Linked DNA regions of Homo sapiens: region 2 is linked to region 1. Evidence: promoter capture Hi-C in human tissues and cell types (Jung and others, 2019). All regions are on one chromosome and are shown on one strand. The core of a region is centred on a gene start or on the middle of the fragment in contact, and the rest is flanking DNA. Distances in the headings are between cores, read along the strand shown. Region 1 holds the start of CLTB (clathrin light chain B). Region 2 overlaps FAF2 (Fas associated factor family member 2).

What was found. Contacts are between HindIII fragments. The study calls those that stand out against the background at their distance.
Region 2: a contact is called between a fragment that was not itself captured here and the fragment with the promoter of CLTB in region 1, in 2 of the 25 tissues and cell types used here (liver and spleen).

What each region holds. Positions count from the first base shown.
Region 1 is chr5:176,415,258-176,417,829 of GRCh38, forward strand. CLTB (clathrin light chain B) reads right to left here and starts at 1,282. Exons shown (of 6, transcript NM_007097.5): 1 at 920-1,282. The coding sequence starts at 1,106. RefSeq lists silencers at 785-864, 975-1,074, 1,115-1,574. The HindIII fragment of the contact is 14,544 bases long and covers 1-2,572 here.
Region 2 is chr5:176,476,994-176,479,565 of GRCh38, forward strand. FAF2 (Fas associated factor family member 2) reads left to right here. Exons shown (of 11, transcript NM_014613.3): 2 at 2,195-2,263. Among named protein-coding and RNA genes, the nearest start is that of FAF2, 30 kb to the left of the region's middle. The HindIII fragment of the contact is 5,477 bases long and covers 1-2,572 here.

The sequences.
Region 1 (2,572 bases), core at 32-2,531:
AAAACCCTGAAGGGCCCTACCGCATCTGACTGATGCCTCTTTGTGGCCCACACTCCGGTGTCTAACTCAGAGCCAGACACTTGGTAGGCAGTGTGGTCAGGTGGAGAGGGCTTCAAGTCCGACAGGAACAGGTTTAAATTCACGGCCAGGTGTGGTGACTCACACCTGTAATCCCAACACTTTAGGAGGCAGAGGTGGGAGGATTGCTTGAGCCCAGGAGCTCAAGACCAGTCTGGGCAACATAGCGAGACCCCATCTCAAAAAAAGGAAAAGAAAAAATATATATGTAAAAGAAAAAGAAACAGGTTTAAATTCTTGATCTGCCACTTACTAGTTATTTCAATAGCATACTCCCTTGAGCCTCAGTTTTACCATCTCTGAAATGGGTTCAATCACGTGTATGAAGTGATTAAATGTAACCAAGGCGCTTAGCCCAGCGACTGCCGAATGCCAGGCGGTCACCGGGGAAGGTTAGTGAGTTCCTGGAGCACCCAGGATCCTCTTTTTTCCCAGCTGCAGGAGAGAGCTAAGCCTGAGGGGCCAGGAGGGCTGTGTTCTGCCCACACCTGCACACTTAGCTGGGAGCCTGGGACACCCAGGCTATTAGGAGGCTCAGGAGGGACTCTCAAAACTGAGGTGGGGTTGGATTCCAGAGCCGGGCAGTGGGGAAGCTGGCCTGGGGATGAAATGTCATGACCGAATTCCTGTCCCGGGAGTCACCAGATCCACAGCCCCAGGCGAGGCCTCATCCCCAGCTCGGAAGTCCTACATGGAGATCTCCAAGAAGATTCTTCCCCACGTCTCCCAGCTCCTGCCCCGGGTGGCCTAGAGCAGGCTCTCTTCCCTGTGCCCCTGGGCCCCGGCCGGGGTCCCCCGGGTGCGCGCCCTGAGCCCCTCTCCAGGCCCCGCGCTGACTCACCCCCACTCGTGGGGCCCGGCTGCGCGGGGGCCGCATGGCTGCCGGCAGGTGCCCCGAAGCCCTCGTCGTTCTCTATGCCTGCAATCTCGCTCTCCTGCTGGGCCAGGAAGGCGGCCGCCGGGTCCTCCTCCGCCGCCTCCGGGGCACCGCTCTCCGACGACGAGAAGAAGCCAAAGTCATCAGCCATTTTCCCCGCGCCTCCGCCGGAGCCTCCGCTGCGCTCGGCTCTGCCCGCGCCTGCCCCGCGCTGCGTCCGGCGGCCGCGACGCTGTCACCCGAGCCGCGGGGGAGCCGGCGTCGGCGGGGACGGGCTTGGCGCGGACCGCACTTCCTCTCCGCCACCGGGCCCGGCTGGCTGTCACTGCGGTGCGGGCGCCGCGGCGGGAGGAGCGGAGCCGGAATGCGGTGACGTCACCGCGGGGGCGGGGCCGCAGGGCCGGGAGGTCGCCGAGCAGCGGCCGCAGGAGGGCGCCTCAGGACTGGGCGCAGCGCTGGGCCCGGGACCGGCGCGGCGCTTCCCTCCCTCCGCAGCGGCGCCCAGCTGCTCGCGTCGAGGACACCTGGGCTAGGCACTGCTCCCGCCCGGCCTGGAGGCGAAACGCAGGGCACAGAGTGGCCGTACCGTGCACAGAGCTGCGACAGGAGGCCACCTCTGGCCTCGGGAGCGCAGACCTGGCTCCTGATTCATTCTGCAGAAGTTTCTTCTCCTAGGTTGGGATGTCATGCACCTCATTCTATGAGCCTCCGCCTCTGTAAGAAGAGGAAAATTGAGGCTGGGAAAGGCTGCCCCGCACCTTTTCATGCAAGTCCAGGTCCTTTCCCACTAGGCCGTGTTGTTTTGTGTATTTTTTTGTGTATCTCCCTTGAGGAGGCTTCAGTTCATACGACCAGAGTTTGGATGGCCAGCTAGGCCCCTTAAATGTCCTTTAGGTATGAACCAGCCTGAGAAAGGCAGACCTGGTTTACCCAGGCAGCCTACCACTCTCCACGCTGCCCGCTGCCCTCTGTGAACAGGCTCTGAATGCCTCCTCCCTGCCTGCGCTTTGCCAAGCACCAGGACAGCAACGTTTTATAAAATCCAGCCATGGCCATGCGGAGATTACAATCCGGTGAGACCAACAGATGGCAAATGGCCTGTCAAAGCACTGTGTGTGAGGCGCTGTGACATTTAAACACGGGGTATAGGGAGACGATGCAAAGAAACACCATGGGATTTGGGCTGTCTGCTATTTCTAATGTGGGACTTGAAAGGCAACTATGAAATATGGACTGGAAGAGCGAAAGGAAAGATGTGCCGCCAAGTTGGGGGTGGAAGTGGAGTTGGGGTGAAGGGACCTTCCAGGTGTTTTTTTTTTTTTCTTTTTAATTTTTTTATTTAGAGACAGGGCCTCGCTATATTAACTGGGCTGGTCTTGAACTGCTGGCCTCAGGGGATCCTCCTGCCTTGGTCTCCCAAAACACTGGGATTACATGTGTGAGCTACCAAGCCCAGCTGGAACTTTCAGTTTAATTGGTAACAACTTGAGCACCTTTTGATGTTACTGTTTTTGGGGGGGTTTTTATTGTTTTATTTAATTAAATTAATGTATTTATTTATTGCTGTCCATTTGCATGGTTTTGTTGTTGTTGTTTGTTTGTTTTTTGTTTTGAGAC
Region 2 (2,572 bases), core at 42-2,541, 62 kb after region 1:
GAGACGGGGTTTCACCATGTTAGCCAGGATGGTCTCGATCTCCTGACTTCGTGATCCGCCCGCCTCGGCCTCCCAAAGTGCTGAGATTACAGGCGTGAGCCACCGTGCCCGGCCTTTTTTTTTTTTTTTTTTAAGTTGAGGCGGGGTTTCACTGTGTTAGCCAGGATGGTCTGGATCTCCTGACCTCATGATCTGACCGCCTCGGCCTCCCAAAGTGCTGAGATTACAGGCATGAGCCACCGTGCCCGGCCTTTTTTTTTTTTTTTTTTTTAAGTAGAGGTGGGGTTTTAACCATGTTGGCCAGGCTGGTCTCTAACTCCTGACCTCATGTGATCCGCCCACCTCAGCCTCCCAAAGTGCTGGGATTACAGGCGTGAGCCACCATGCCTGGCCTAGAGTCCAATTCTTAAAGAGAATCCACAGCGAGAAGGAGGAACCCTGGACATCCCAGTCCTTTAGTGGGTTGTAATGTAGGACACTGAAAGTTAAGGGGGTCCTATTAGAAGCCAGAAGGGAATAGGCAAATGTGAAGAGTCCTGTAATGGTCAGGACCTAAAATCCAGACTCAGAACTGTCAAAGCCAGTGGTTCTTAAAGGAACTTTTCTATTTCAGCATTTTAAACATTAACATTTTTTATTGCAAGTTTTTGTACTACATGTGTAATTATAAAAAATGAAAACTTGTATACCTAAAAATCCGAATTTCAGTTTTTGAATTTTGTTTCATTTTTTTAAGCTCTGGAAAAGAAATGCATTCCACATTAAACCCTTCACATTGCACATAAAGGAAACTAAATTCAGAGTTAAAATGTGCCTGTCCGTGGCCATGGGGTGCAGAATTAGGCAAGAACTTCAGTTTTCAGACTCATCAGTCCATACTACTACATTCTTGTCAGGTTGAGATCAGTCTCTTTGCCCTGAAGCTTACTGGTTGTTTAGAGGAGTTTCTTGAGGATAGAGACTACATCTTATTCATTTTCTGTCCCTCCAACATAGTAAGTTAGTGCTGTACAGAATAGGCATGTAGCACACATTTGTCAAATGAAAGGATGGATGGATTAGATGGATGGTTTTGGCTTTTATATTAGACTTTGAAGGAATGCTAGAGTTTAGCTCTGTGGAAATTCTGGGCATGAGATGTATACATGAACTGTTAGATTTGCTGAATATTGGACATCTGAACGGAAATAGTGAGAAAATACTGTAACTGCAGTGGCTCACACCTATAATCCCAGCACTTTGGGAGGCCAAGGCAAGAGGATTGCTTGAGCCCAGGAGTTGGAGACCAGCCTGGGGAATATAGAGAGATCCCGTCTTTACAAAAAACATCCAAAATTTAGCTGGGTGTGGTGGTGCACACCTGCAGTGCCAGCTACTCAGGAGGCTGAGGCGGGAGGATCGCTTCAGTCTGGGAAGTTGAGACTGCAGTGAGCAGTCATTGCGCTATTGCACTCCAAACTGGATGACAGAGCAAGACCCTGTCTCGAAAAAAAAGTGGCGGGGGGTAGGGGGGTCGGTATGTTAGGTTTTACACAGTTCATATTATAAACTAGGTTAATACCAGTATATAAAATGAAATAAGTTAATGAAAGGCATGACGTTTTACAGGAAAGGTGCATTACATCATTATGTAGAGGTTGAGTATTCCTTATCTAAAATGCTTGGAACCACAAGTGTTTCAGATTTGGATTGTTTTGAGAATTTGGAATATTTACGTTTTACTGAATGAGCATCTCAAATCTGAAATGTTCCACTATGCATTTCCTTTGAGACATGTCAGCACTCAAAATGTTTCAAAAAATGTTGGAGCATTTTAGGTTTCAGATTTGGGATGCTCAACCTGTACTATCAACAGAATAGCTGTTTAGCATTAAATAATATTTTGCTTAGCCCACAGGTTGAAAAATCTTTAATTTTTTAAACTTGAATTTGAGAGGAGAATATTGATCTTAGTCAGTACTCCTCTTAATTGAAAGCCTTGAAGTTTTAAAAGGAATTATCATTTTTTTAGTTCTTTACGCATCTAGAACAGTCAGCTGACTGTATAAATTCTGAATCGGTGAAGTTTTACCATACTTTAACACTCACTTTTAACATTTTTTAGTGTATTTTCCTAGCAGTATATGGCGTAAAAATACTCACACGTATACTGTTGGTTTTTCTCTAAGTAACTTGTTTTCATCCTTCTTTTCAGGATCTCACTGGCATCGAATCTATGGATCAGTGTCGCCATACCTTGGAACAGCATAACTGGAACATAGAGGTATAATAGGATGTGTTCTGAGCTTATTTCTTTTTCTCTGGTCTGATTAAGAGTCAAAACCGTATGTTTTTCCATAGCAGGAATCTTTTCAGTAGATTTTTTTCAGAATTATGACTCTAAAAATAAAAGTGCAGGAAGGTAAAGAATGTGAGAAAGTTTATAAAATCATAGAAAAATTTGTGACTAAATCCCTCAATATAGTGCCCCACCCCCTACTGTTTGTTAGTATCTTGTTGGGAAAACAATTGGTTTTTGTATATTTAGTTTTTAACCAGATGTCTTGATGTGAACCTTCTTCTTACATATTTT